Regions from separate parts of the Homo sapiens genome. Here regions 1, 3, 4 and 5 are each linked to region 2. Evidence: promoter capture Hi-C in 16 types of primary human blood cells and fetal thymus (Javierre and others, 2016). All regions are on one chromosome and are shown on one strand. The core of a region is centred on a gene start or on the middle of the fragment in contact, and the rest is flanking DNA. Distances in the headings are between cores, read along the strand shown.

What was found. Contacts are between HindIII fragments. The CHiCAGO score rates a contact against its expected background, and 5 or more counts as called.
Region 1: a fragment that was not itself captured here is called in contact with the fragment with the promoter of GSG1L in region 2 in 7 of 17 cell types (M1 macrophages, M0 macrophages, megakaryocytes and 4 more); the score reaches 19.0 in M1 macrophages.
Region 3: a contact is called between a fragment that was not itself captured here and the fragment with the promoter of GSG1L in region 2, in 1 of 17 cell types (megakaryocytes). The highest score is 5.3, in megakaryocytes.
Region 4: a fragment that was not itself captured here is called in contact with the fragment with the promoter of GSG1L in region 2 in 2 of 17 cell types (megakaryocytes and endothelial precursors); the score reaches 6.2 in megakaryocytes.
Region 5: a fragment that was not itself captured here is called in contact with the fragment with the promoter of GSG1L in region 2 in 1 of 17 cell types (neutrophils); the score reaches 5.2 in neutrophils.

What each region holds. Positions count from the first base shown.
Region 1 is chr16:27,599,444-27,602,143 of GRCh38, reverse strand. The region is part of intron 2 of KATNIP (katanin interacting protein); the gene reads right to left. Among named protein-coding and RNA genes, the nearest start is that of KATNIP, 51 kb to the right of the region's middle. The HindIII fragment of the contact is 1,396 bases long and covers 748-2,143 here.
Region 2 is chr16:28,062,379-28,065,078 of GRCh38, reverse strand. It overlaps GSG1L (GSG1 like), which reads left to right and starts at 1,365. Exons shown (of 7, transcript NM_001109763.2): 1 at 1,365-2,003. The coding sequence starts at 1,655. The HindIII fragment of the contact is 8,058 bases long and covers 1-2,700 here.
Region 3 is chr16:27,737,169-27,739,868 of GRCh38, reverse strand. All of the region lies in intron 14 of KATNIP (katanin interacting protein), which reads right to left. Among named protein-coding and RNA genes, the nearest start is that of KATNIP, 190 kb to the right of the region's middle. The HindIII fragment of the contact is 2,920 bases long and covers 1-2,700 here.
Region 4 is chr16:27,758,980-27,761,679 of GRCh38, reverse strand. It overlaps KATNIP (katanin interacting protein), which reads right to left. Exons shown (of 28, transcript NM_015202.5): 19 at 90-267. Among named protein-coding and RNA genes, the nearest start is that of KATNIP, 210 kb to the right of the region's middle. RefSeq lists an enhancer at 1,615-1,674. The HindIII fragment of the contact is 2,706 bases long and covers 74-2,700 here.
Region 5 is chr16:28,321,518-28,324,217 of GRCh38, reverse strand. SBK1 (SH3 domain binding kinase 1) reads right to left here. Exons shown (of 4, transcript NM_001024401.3): 4 at 369-2,700. Among named protein-coding and RNA genes, the nearest start is that of SBK1, 30 kb to the right of the region's middle. The HindIII fragment of the contact is 8,524 bases long and covers 1-2,700 here.

The sequences.
Region 1 (2,700 bases), core at 196-2,695, 460 kb after region 2:
CAGGCCTGGGGCAGCATAAACAGCCTCTAATAATTGAGAAGAGACAAGCTGCTTTCGCCCTCTCAGGCTGGTGCTGTTAGTGGACCTGATTTAGGGCCACTTTTACCTGTCAGAGCCTCTCAATCCTGCAGGACTGGCCACCAGGCCTGATGGGAGGAGAGAGGCAGCCACCCTCCGCCAATCTTTGCCTCCATCCACCTGATTTCCATCCAAGAACTTTTCCTTCTAATGAAATGGACCTCCCAACACAGGGCATCTATCACCACCAGCCCAGCAGGCAGGGCTGTCTGAGTAGATGATCATTCCCCCACACCCCAGGGCTGCTGCCGGCCCCCTGAAGAGGGGAGGGCACTCCCTTCCTATTGATCCTACACATATTCCTTGTGCTTCTCCTATGGGTTGGGCATCGGGCAAGGGCCAGAGATAGACAGACAAGTGTAATCTGGCCTCGCCACCCTCCTTGACCTCATTTCCACCTTCATCCTAATAGCCACATGGTCCTTCTGGCTCTTTCTCAAGGTCATTGCCGGCCGGGCGCAGTGGCTCATGCTTGTAATCCCAGAACTTTGGGAGGCCAAAGCAGGAGGATCACTCGAGCTCAGGAGTTCGAGGTCAGCCTGGGAAATACCTCGAGAGCACCCGCCCCACTCCCCCTGCCCCGTCTCTATAATAAGTAAATAAATAAAGGTCATTGCCTCTGTTGTTCCCCCTGCCTGCAATGTTTCCCTCCTTGCTCTAGGGTAAGCTTGTTTAGCAGCATCCCCTCTTCCAGGGGCCTCTCCCAACAACCTCTGTCCCTGTCTGCCTCCTCACCCAGTAGCACCTCTCACTCTCTGAAAGTATCTCTGTTCATTTACACATGGCCTCCCCCATCAGGACGCCAGACCCACGAGAGCAGGGACAATGCGAGCTTGCTCACTGCTGTGTCTCCCAGTTCCTGGCATGTACAAGGAGCTTATAAAGGATTTGCAGAAAGGAAAGAACACGGAGGAACAGAAGGAAAGGGAGGAAGACAAAAATCCCTGGCCTCAAGGAACTTGGAGTAGAGAGATAGAAATGGAACAATTGCTCCAGTGCAGTGTGGCAGATGCTATCAAGAGGAGGCAACTGAGGTTGGGTGCAGTGGCTCACTTCTGTAATCCCAGCACTTTGGGAGGCTGAGGCGGGTGGATCACCTGAGGTCAGGAGTTTGAGACCAGCCTGGCCAACATGGTGAAACCCTGTCTCTACTAAAAAAATACAAAAAATTAGCTGGGCGTGGTGGTGTGTGCCTGTAATCCCAGGTACTCGGGAGGCTGAGGCAGGAGAATCGCTTGAATCTGGGAGGCGGAGGTTGTGGTAAGCCGAGATTGCGCCACTGCACTCCTGCCTGGGAAACAAGATTAAAACTCCGTCTAAAAAAAAAAAAAAAGAGGAGGCAGCTGTGCCACAAGGGCAGTGGGTGGAGTGGAGGGGGCCTGGGATTACTGGCGGGGCTGGGTGGGCTTTGCAGAAGAGAAAACAAGACACCGAATTGTAAAAGAGCTCACCAGGAGAATGGGGGAGGGCGGAGCAGGGGCCAGAAGGGAAGAGTGTTTGTAAAAGCAGATGCCAGGAGACTCCAGGAGCCTGTCTTGGGCTGGGGTGGAGAGTGATCAAAGCCTGCTGGCTGATCCCAGGGGACGGCTAGAGAGTCTTTGCTTCTGACATCCCAGGTATGCTTAAGGGCAAAGCCTGTTTGTGCTAACGGCAGGTGCTGAAATATCATTCTCAAGTGTAGGGCAGTGCAGTGGGGTTCATGGGCCTCAAACTGGATTAACTCTCACATACTGCAGTCAAGATTTTGCCATGTGAGACAATGTTCATCTAGGAATTTAAAGGCGACAGCAAATGCTCATTCTCTCTGACCCTGGTCCCCTCCCCGACCATGTGGGACTGCGTTCCTTTCCCTCCTCCCTCCTCACCCCACTTCTTTCCTACCTTCTTCCAGATTTACTAAACACCTCCTAATCCATGCCAGGGCATGTCCCCAGCCTCATGGAGCTGGTGGTCTAGTGAGGAAGACAGATTTTAATCAAATGACCTACCAAATGTATGACGTCAGTGCTCGGAAGGTGGGGGAGGCGGGGGCGATGAGTGGCTTTAAAAGGGGGCAGGTGAAGCTTCGCTGCAGAGGATAACAGAACCAAAACCTGAAGGATGAATGGGTTAATTGTGGAGGAGAGGGGAGAGTGCTCAAAGCAAAGTGGAGGCGTGCTAAGGCAGCAGACGCACATGAGCACAGAGCAGAAGGGACAAGGCAGGCACGTGGGACAGAGACTGACACGGGACTGAGGCGGATGGACCACAAACACCGCGTGCCCACGGCAGGAGTTCTGCCCTGAGACTCCAGACCACTGGGAAGCCACATGGTGCTCCTGGAGCGGACAGCGGAAGTTGGAGTAAGAAAGGGGTTGGGTGGTGGAGAATGGGTGCCAGGCTGCAGGTGAGAGGCTACCGCAGGTGCTTAGATGAGAGGACTCAGCCACGTGGAGGGTCAGGGAAGAGAGGCTTCCAAGGTGAAGGCACAGGACTTGGTGACAGGCTGGAAAGAAGAGACAAGGGAGAGGGTCTATAAGGATGATTCCAGGGTTTCTGGCCTGCATCATTGGAGGGACGGGGCACCATTCATGGAGCAAAGGCTGGAGGGAGAGCAGGTCTGAGTGTGGCCTGGCGCATGAA
Region 2 (2,700 bases), core at 116-2,615:
TTAACCTTGAATTCTGCAAGGCCTGCCACTCGGCAAGCCGGGGGTTGTCGGAGCAGTTCTCAGCTTGGGCAGAATTCAAATGAGCTCTTATAATCAACATGCAATTAATTGTTGCACGCCCTGAGCATCTGGGCAGTAAGTGCTGTGCAGCGCGAAGGGAGTTCAGGGAGCGTGGTCATCTTAGAGCAGAGGTGGGGACGGGGTTGCACACAGTTTCCACGTTGCACAGGAGAGCCTGAAGAGGTTTGTCTGAGTTTGGTCAACTGATCTTGGTTCAGATGTCAGTAACAGTGAATTATTAATTGAGTCTACTGTGTGCCAAATGCTTTTTGCAGCCATGATCTCATTACAGCAGCCCACTGTGATATACCTTGAAGGGGGGGGGGTCCTCCCTTTTTTATAGTTATGGAAATTGAGGCTCAGAGAGGGTAAGTGACCTGTTCAAAGCCACACAGCTGGTCAAGCCCTAGATATGCTTGATCCCAAAGTCAGTATGTTTGGCCACCCTGCCCCCACCCGAATCTTGAAGATTCTACCCACATTCACATGGTGTGCATGTGAGCAGGGTTGGCAGCCCCTGTAGGGCACCACTGCCTGGTAGCTGCAATAACTTTGTGGCCGGCATGGGCCCTCCTAGGGTTCTGCTGTTTGGGATCTCAGGTGGGTGCAGTGGGCTGTCTGGGGTACCCTGTTGCCACTCTTCCTGCAGTTGCATGCCATGGTTGGGAGCCCAGATGACAGTTTCATCCTTGGAGGGGAGCTCTTCCCAGATGCTGGAGGTGACACCCAGGAGACAGAAAAACGTTTCAAACCCTATAACCCAATACTCCAGGAGGGGCGCCTCCTGACAGATTCTGCCACTCCAAGTCCAGCATGGGTTGTCTTATCCAGGGGGTCTTGCAGCTCCCTGGCTGTGGGAAGCCCTGCAGGCTCTGCTGTTTAGAACCTTTGGAAAAACTCCTTTCTCAGGGTCTGGTGCGGGGGTCCTTTTGGGGATCCCCTTCTGGGACAGGGTCCTGCTGGTCCGTGTCCCTCTTGGGGAGCCCCAGCAGGCTCTGCCCTTGTCTCCTGGGGCAGGGCCTCTCTGGGTCTCATGAGATGCCCGCTCCCGGCGGGTTTTGTTGCCCCACGTCCGCCGTGGGGATCTTTTCTCAGGAGCGCCTTGCCTGGGATTCTCCTTGCGTCTCAGACCCTCACCCTGGCTCGGATTTCTTTCGGGGGCGTCCCTCCACTCCCAGGCCCCCGCCCGCGCCCGGCGTGGCGGCCCCCTCTCCCCGTGCGGGCGGGCTCCGGAACAGTGTCGCCGGCCGCCTGCAGGTGTCTCCCCACGGAGGGGCGCGCGTCCCTGCGCCGTGGCCGCTGCCAGGCGCCAGCGGCTCCTAGCCGAGGTGCACTCGCGCTCCGGGCTCCGGGCGCGCCGTAGCCGCTCCTCCACCGCCGCCCGCCCCGCCAGCCCGCCCCGCACGCCCCCCGCGCCGCGCCCCCACCCCGGGGTTGGGGGGGGCATGGGCCCGCGCCGCGTCCGCCGCCGCCGATCTCAGGCACCCGAGCCCCGGGGCGCGGCGGGCAGCGGCCGCTGACGCGGGGCGCCAGCTGCCAACTTCGCGCGCGGAGCTCCCCGGCGGTGCAGTCCCGTCCCGGCGGCGCGGGCGGCATGAAGACTAGCCGCCGCGGCCGAGCGCTCCTGGCCGTGGCCCTGAACCTGCTGGCGCTGCTGTTCGCCACCACCGCTTTCCTCACCACGCACTGGTGCCAGGGCACGCAGCGGGTCCCCAAGCCGGGCTGCGGCCAGGGCGGGCGCGCCAACTGCCCCAACTCGGGCGCCAACGCCACGGCCAACGGCACCGCCGCCCCCGCCGCCGCCGCCGCCGCCGCCACCGCCTCGGGGAACGGCCCCCCTGGCGGCGCGCTCTACAGCTGGGAGACCGGCGACGACCGCTTCCTCTTCAGGAATTTCCACACCGGCATCTGGTACTCGTGCGAGGAGGAGCTCAGCGGGCTTGGTGAGTGCGCGCGGGCGGCGGCCAGCTCGGCTCCGGCTCCCCCGGGGCGGCGCGGCCATCGAGGCCCGAGCCCCGGACCCGTTCGCCCTCCTCCCGCCGCCTGGGCCCAGCTCCCAGCGCTCCGCCTGGCTAGGGGCGACGTTCCGGGGCAGGGGGCGCGCGCCGTTCCGGGGCCGGGGACCAGCATGGGGGGACGTGCGGGACGCCCCGCCGTGGAGAGGTGCAAGGCAGAGCTCCTACCCGCTGCGGACGCCCCGCGGCTTTGGGGACGCTCCCGCGCCCCGGGAAGGCGCCCACCCCCGCTGCCGGTCGGAGGGGCGCGCGCTGCTTTCCGCTCCTGAACTCATCTCCACGCTCGCCCCCTCCTCCTCTTCCTTTCGCGGGGCACTAGATGCCCCCACCCACCCCGGAACGCCCCTGGGGGTGGGGGTGATGCAGGGACTCCTGCTACCAGCCGCCCCTCCTGCCGCAGATCCACAGACCCGGGAGCCTTCCACCCCCATCGCCAACCCACGCCGAACCTCCCAGACGGGAGTGGGGAGTGGGGGAGTCCCGCGGGCTCCCGGAAAGCCGCACCCGCCCAGAGGCACCCCTATTGCCAGACGCCAGGGAGCCCTCTGTATCCTGGCCCCCTCCTGGGAGAGGCAGGCTAGGGAACTGGGGACAGCTGGGCAAACTCCGGGTCGAGGAGTCCAGG
Region 3 (2,700 bases), core at 157-2,656, 330 kb after region 2:
GAACCGCTACATACTCTATAAATCAAAGGACTTTCACAAAGAGACGGCCTCAATCGCTGCCTTCGTCATCATTACCTCCTGTCGGGACATTCGTAATAGCCTACTAATGGGTCTCCCTGCTTCCTGTCTCTTGCTACTTTAACTTGGACTTCACATTGCCACCAGAGTTCATTTCCTACCAGAGCAAATCTGTCCAGTCATTCCCCTGTGTGAAATCCTTCATGTTTTTTCACAGCCTATAGCAGTGTTCTTTAAAGTCCAGTTCCTGAGACCATCTGCGTCGAAAAGCCTGGAGTGCTTATAAAACAGCTTTCCTGGCCTCCGTGGGCATCATAATTGGGAGACCGTAAAAGCAGAGGCTGAGACAAGGACTCGGGTGCAAGTCGAGTATTTGGCAGGTGATTCCAAGAGGAAATGGGGAAAGCAAGATAGGGCAGGAAAAAGGAAAAACCCAGTTTTTTTGAGCTGGTCACTGCTGTGGCCAACTGGTGCTCCTTCCCACGGGGGCCCTCTGCGGCACTCCAAGATCTCACTTTCCCCAACCCTAGTCTTCACCTATCTTAAAAATGGCTCCATCATTGAAGCAGTGGCCAAAAACCTCGTGGCCCCCTTGATCCCTCTCTTTCTCACTTGCCCATCCAATCCGCCAGCTGTCCCTCGCCTCTCTCTCCAGAACACTTCCTGGGTCTGACCTCTTTACCTGGAATGTGCTGCTGCCTTCCTTGCCCAGGCCACCAGGGTCTCTACCAGAGACACCACTGCCGCCTCCTAATTGGTCTCTCTGCTTCCACTCTGCGTTGTCTCCTCCAAATCCCTGCACTCACACTTCATTTTCTATGCAGCAGTGAGTTTTTTTTTTTTTAACTGAAATCAGATCATGGGAGTCTTCTGCTTAAATGCATGTCGCAAATGTCTCTCCAAGACTGGGACATTTATCCACTGCTTGTTGAAGGCTGCCCTCAGGGCACTGATGCCCCAACACATGCACGAGCTGAGTGTGCTCCCACGGCAGAGCACCCCACGAGCACCTGAGGCAGGGCACTGTCCACATGCGGGGACTGTCCCATGTTCACGGCAGCTGCAGTTGGAAGGGAGCCAGGAGGATGCCGTGTGAGGACCACTGCCTCAAGGCAGCCTGTAGGTAACTTCTGGACTCAGAACAAGTTCTCCGGATGATTTCTTCACACGACGGGGTGCAGAACCATGCCGATGATGGGATAAATTCCAAAGCTCTCCACATGACATACAGTAACCTTCACAAATGGTCCCCACCTCGCTCTCCTCTCTCACTGCCAGCCTAAATGCCCCTATGTCACGCAGGTTCAACTCTCTTCCTTCCATGCTTAAGATAAAATCACATCTCCTGCTACTGTTTCACTTGTGTCATCCTCTTTACAGCAAAACTCTTTTTCCAGCTTTATCGGGGAATAGAATACACACCCCATACAATAAACTGTGCATATTTAACGGGTACAGCTTGATCAGTTTTAACATGTGTCTACGCCAATGAAGCCATCACACTCAAGAGAACAAACGTACCTATCACCCTAAGGTTTCCTCGTGCCCCTTGGTAACCCCTGTCTCCCCTTCCTCCTTCCCTGGCTCCAGGCAACCACCCACTTATGGTCCCTCCCTATATACTGATCGTCCTTTCTGGAATGTTTACATAAAGGAATCATGTTGCATGTAGTCTTTTTTGCTCGGCTCTTTCAGTCACCATAACTGCTCTGAGATTCACCTGTGTTATGGGAACTGATAGTTCCTTTCCTTTCTACTGCTAAGGAATATTCCATTGCAGGGCCCCCCGCATGATCTGTCCGTCACCCCGTCAGTGAATCTCTGAGTGTCACTGTCCCCGTGGGCTCCTCCTCCCACTACCCCTTGTTCCTCCTCCCGTTGGGCTTCTGCCTCCACCTCCACATGGAACCCACCTGGCCCGGGCACCTGTAACTAGGGTGACGGGCCATCCTAGTTTGTCTGGGACAATTCTGATTTATATCTGTTATCCTGGTGTCATTACTAATGACTCTCAGAAGTGTCTGGTTCCTAAAGTAAATTACAGGGTCCAGCTGACTGCCATACGCAATAGGAATTTCTCCTAGGAGTGGGTGGGTGTGGCGGCTCGGCAGTACTCGGCAGCTTCCCCTCCTTTGCGATGACTTTCCTCCCTGGGGCTTGTGTGGCTCTGCACCCACCTGGCTTTCCTCCTGCCTCGCTGGCTGAGCCTGCCCGACTCCTGGGTTGCTTCCTTTTCTTCGGCTGCACTTTGAACGACTAGGCTGCCCAGGGCTCAGTCCTAGGCCTCCCGAGTGCTCTTCCCTTGCTCTCCAGGTGGTCTCATTCAGGTCCCAGGCTCCCAGTTATTTTCATCTCCAACCCTGACCTCTCCACCAAGCCCCAAGTGACTGCTTGGCCTCTCTTCCTGGATATCTAACAGGAATTCCAATATAAAATGCCCAAAACAGAATGCTCTCTTTTTTTTTTAAGAGACAAGGTCTTGCTCTGTTGCCCAGGCTGGCGTTACAGTGGCTCGATCAGGGTTCACTGCAACCTGAATTTCTGGGCTCAAGTGACCCTCCCATCTCAGCATCCTGGATAGCTGGGACTACAGGTACACGTCACCACGACCAGCTAATTAAAATAAATTTTTTTTTGTAGAGACGGGGTCTCACTATGTTGTCCAGGCTGGTCTTGAGCCCC
Region 4 (2,700 bases), core at 177-2,676, 300 kb after region 2:
ATTTGATGTCTGAATCTGAAGTCTCAGAGGCAGAACAATGTCCCCAAAACCCAGTGGGCATGAAAGTAAAGCTTCTGATAGACACTTACTTGTCCAGGGCCCGGGAGTCGTCAGAGTACTCGGGGAGCTCATTTAAGTCTCTGGGGGAAGCAGAGATCTGGTGCAGGTGGATGGGCAGCGCCTGGCCCTCCTTGCCCACCACTTCCAGGCCAGTGAGCCCCAGGTAGTGCAAGTCTCCCCAGGAGGCAGTGAAATTCAGCTGAAGGCCTGCAACAGGAAGAGAAGTGGCCCATTAGCACCAGAGGCTCCAGAGGAGGCATCTAAAATGAAGACAGGAAGAGGAATGCTATTCGGCCTCTATATTCTAGCAACTTCAACCCAGACCCAAAGTGCCTTGCAGGTGGGCTCTGTGGCTTTCCTCTAGGTGGCCTTGGGCCCAGGCCACTGTCAGTGCTCAGGAAACAACGGTAAGCTGCATGGGCGAGGGTTAAACCTGCACATAGCCCTGAGTCCTTCCTCCGCCTACCAGATTGTGCTGTCCCACCCGACACTGAACATCCTTGGTGGCTTCCCATGCTTTCTGGCCAACAACGCATTCCCCATCAGACTTCTATCTACTTCTCTGACCTCACTGTGCACCAGGGACCCTAGGCCCCACCCAGGCTGTCTTTCAGTTTCTCGTATTTATATTCCTCTCTCTCCAACCACAGGGCCTTTGAATGTGCTGTCACCCCTCCCTAGAATTCACATGGCCTGGTTGACTTGTGAGCACCCTTCAGATCCCAGCTCCCTTCCTCAGAGAAGCCCTCCTGAGTTCTTTGACCAGGTCAAACCTCCATTGATAACCTGCCATGCCACTGTACACTTCCCTTTCCAAGCCCTGGTCACTGCTGTAATCGCGTGATCTTGGTAAATACCCACTTGCCCCGCCAGATGCCTAACTCCTTGAGGGAGAAACCCCATCTGTTTCTCTAAACCACTGTGTCCTGAGCCTGGCATGGTGCCTGGCACACAGTAGGAGCTCAGTACAGATGGAATGATTAAACCAGCAACTACATGGAGACTTGTATCAGTAAGCCCCAGCGCTGGAAACTGACATTTTATGCAAATTGGCTGCTATCACAAACATTCACGTGGGCTCAGAGTAAAGGAAGTGACCTAGGGTGATACCGCCATCCTTTTGCCTCTGCTCCCATCCTCTCTCGATCAGAGACCATTTAGAAGTGACCTTCTGTGGCCCTGGGGCAAAACAGCCCAGATGTCATTCATTTGCCCAGGAAACTCAAATGGAATGAATCTCTTGATCAAGCCCTGTCAGATAATTGGCTGGAACGTCTCTTTCCTTAACGGTGTCTCATTAGAGCAAGACCAAACACAATAAACCCTTCTGCCCTTAGAGAATTTGCCGCATATTTTAGCACCCTTTTGGGTAGCTAAGTGTAAGACTCACTCTTTGCAGCGTTCACAGAAATGCCAGCACCACAGAGCAGGCAGAAGGAAGCAGGGTGTCATCTGGCACCACCCCCTTGCAGCTCAGATGAGGAACTGGAAGCCCAGAGAGGTGAAAGGACTTCTTTGTGGCCATGAAGAGGGGCTGGGTCACCTGACCTCCCTGGAGCTTGGTTTTCTCTCCCACGCCCCTGACATCTCCCAACATACTTTTTGTAACTTAGCCCTCAGATCCTTTTCCTCCTTCGTGGTGCCAAGGTAACTCTGAGCATCTCTGGGGCAGATGAAAAAAACATGTGGCCAGCACGGCACCCTGCACATGGGCTTCTCGCCGCATCATTCACGTGCAAAGTGGCTACAAGCTCGTCCCATCCCGTGTCCCTGCTGTTGCAATGTGATTTTGCCCCTCATCCCATCCAGAGTTGGAGTTTCCTTCTCTGCTCCTGACTCTGGGTCACGTGATTTGCTTTGAACACTGGGACAGAAGCCCACGTGAGGCAAGCAGAGCCTGTAAAGCACTCGGGGCTTGAGACTGCCATGCGAGGCAGCCCAGCTAACCCAGACACCTGTCTCTCTGGCCAGCAGCCTCCCCACTGCCAGACGGGTGGGTGAAGATGTCCTAGGTCATTCAGCTGCTGGTCCACCTCCCTGCTGATCAGGAACTCGAGCAGGCCCAGTAGAGGCCAACCAAGCTGGCTCACCCAGAGCTGCCCAGCCAAGATACTGAATTACCAGTCAGTCATGAATATAATTCATGGTAGTTGTGTTAAGCCAGTGGATTTTGGATTGGCTTGTTCGGCAGCAAAAGCTAGCTGACACATTCCTTCTCAGCATGAGTCAGTGTTCCAATGTCATTTCCTGAGAGGCCTTCCCTAATAACCAGAGCTCAAACAGCCCTGCTCACCCCATCACTCTCTACATCCTTACCCTGCTCGCCTTGTTGTTTATAGCACTGAATGCTTCCTGACAATCGAGTCTACATTGATTTGCTTATTTGTCTCCATCAGTCTCCCCCACTAAGACGGAAGTTCCCTGAGGCCAGGACTCTGCTGGTTTTGTTCACTGCTGTATCCCCGGAGCCCAGAACAGTGCTTAGTAGATGTTCAATGAATGTTTTTAGTAAAAATTTTAAACACATGACTAATTAACAAGTAGGGCTTCAGTAGATATCTGCAAGTAAATGAGACAAACGAAAACTATTGGGTTTTACCAACTTCACAGTCAACAGTCAACGAATATTTATTGGTCATC
Region 5 (2,700 bases), core at 47-2,546, 260 kb before region 2:
GATGGAACTTTGCTCTTGTTGTCCAGGCTGGAGTACAATGGCGCGATCTCAGCTCACTACAACCTCCACCTACCGGGTTCAAGCGATTCTTCTGCCTCAGCCTCCCAAGTAGCTGGGAGTACAGGCGTGCGCCATCGCGCCCAGCTAATTTTATATTTTTAGTAGAGATGGGGGTTTCACCATGTTGGCCAGGCTAGTCTTGAACTCCTGACCTCAGGTGATCCGCCCGCCTCGGCCTCCCAAAGTGCTGGGATTATAGATGTGAGCCGCTCCGCCCAGCCCAAGTTTTCAGTTTCTAGAGTACCTGTGTGCCCCCACCCCCACCGCCCTCTCCACCCCAAACTTGAGAAAAGACAGCCACCCAGTGGTCATTTTTCTAAACTTTTGTTTATTTTTATAGCAATCGTCATGTTTAGAGAAGTAAATAACACATTTAAAAACCTTCTCAGGGCCAAAGGATGCCAGAGTATTTACAAACACATGGAGGAAGGGCGGCAAGACATGAGGGGCTGGGGCTCTGGGGCTAGGACTCTACCCAGGACCCCGCCCCAGGCCCTGAGCCAAGCATGGACGCTGATGTCAGCCACCAGGACTGTCCCACTGGCCACAGTGTGGGCTCAGGGAACATTCTGGCAGCCGTGGGGTTCTGTTCAGTGGGCCTGGTGGAGACCCTCTAGCCGACCTGTGGCCCCGCCTCCCATCCAGGGGGCTTCCCGTGCCCCACAGGCCAGCTCAGAGGGGTCTCTGGGAAGCACCGAAGGACAGGGGGCAGTGTGGGGGACACAGGGTCTGGGACAGAGACACGCACACACATACACACATACACACATACACACTGTACCTTCACAGAAGAATCGCAACAAGGGAGATTTTTTGTGTGATTTTTTTTTTTTTGTCTTCTAAGTCTTCATGTCTACAGTGTTATTTTTTGCTATTATTTTTTGTTTCTTCGACAGTGACATAAACTGAGGTAAACATCTGTGACCAACACCTCTCCTAAGGGGCAAAGGGTCCCAGCCCGACCAGCAGAGGAGGTGGCAGCACCAGGGCCCCAACCTGGTGTTCCGGTTCTGCTCTGGGGTCAGGCTGGAGGCTGGCCCTCTGGGTGCCTCTGGGAATGAGGGGGCTGGGCTACATAACTATGGTCCCCTCCCAACTCTAACATACTAGATACTACAACGGCTGGGGAAACTCCCGAACAGGATCTTAACAGAGAGAGGGAGAGAGAGAAAGAGAGGAGAGAGAGAGAGAGAGAGAGAGAGAGAGAGAGAGAGAGAGAGAGAGAGGGAGAGAGAGAGCGCGCGCGAGAGAGAGAGCGAGCACGGCAAGGGACGTCTACTGTGGAATCTCGATTCCTAGTTATTGCAGGAGAGATCAGGATGTCGCGAGGCCTAAGGCAAAAGGAGAAGTCGCGGCTGGGAGAGGCAGCCCCGATGGGCTCCAGGTGGGCCGGGGGCAGTGACCAGGGCCTTCTCTGAGACCTGGTCCTTGGAGGGAGTGGGGGTTTGCTACTTACCTGGCATGTGGAGGGCCCATACCCACTGGGGAGGTGGAGTCTGGAGAGGAGTGGGCACAGCAGGGAGAGTGGGGCCAGGCCCTGGGGCCACCCCACACTGTTTGTAAACTGGACCCGGGCAGGGCAGGGGACCTATAGCCCTTTTTCAAGGTGGGAATGAGTGGGGAGTGGAGAGGTTGGGGCACCAGCCAGAAAGTGCTCGGAGTTCACTCTGGCCGGCCTGGCCCATCAAAGAGCCCCTCAAATGGCCCAGAACCCCAGGAGGGACCCTGGCAGGGGACCCTGACAGGGACAGCCTCACCCATGTGGTGCTTATTGCGGGGGTCCCGGGCCTCCACAGAGAGGGGCAGGGGGTCAGGCGGGGCTGCTGTTGTCTCTGTTTTGCTACCTGGGGGCCTGAACCAACCTGCAGGGGCCTCCTTGCCGGATTTCCTGAGGGCTGTGGTGCAAGGCAGGCCTGGGCGCCCTGGGACAGCTGCCTGGGAGGACCAGGGTGTGGTGGGGGGGCCGCTGGTGAGGGGTCTGGACGCACAGTCACTGAACGCAAAGGATGGCACCCATGCGTCTGCACCCTACACATGTGCACACACACCTAGTCACACACTCGCCCCCTGGTGTCCACCGCCCCCATTCTCACACCCACACATGCAGGTCCTACGCCCTGCACACTCCAGCGCCAGAAAAGTGGGAGACGTGAGGATGGGGTCTTGGAGGTTGGCATGTTTGACCCCAAGAAACCCAGGAGAAATTTCCAGCACGAACCAGCTCGCCACCTGCTGGAAGCCCAGGCTACTACGTCTAGGCTGTGTGGCAAGGGCTGGGAGGACCCGGCAGAGGTCCCTGGGCCTGGGACAGTGCGGCTGGCAGGGGGAGCTGGGACCTGCTCTCGGCTCCACACTAACTCCCCTGCCCTAAGGATGGGGGCAGCTGAGACCCCTGCCCTGTGAGCCCTTCTATCCCCACAAGTTGTCAGGACAATCCCTTGTGGTTAGGGGGAGGGGCGGGGAGAGAGCTCTATTTCTCAGCCAGTGCCAAGCTACCCTCCCTCCTGGGCTGTGATTTCATTTGTGCAATGGGGGTGTGCAGGAGTCACTAGCTTCTCGGGGCCTGTCCCGCACATACACGCACTTATGCGACATCCAGACATTTGCTACATTTTCCAAGGGCTTGGCCTCTCCCCTCCA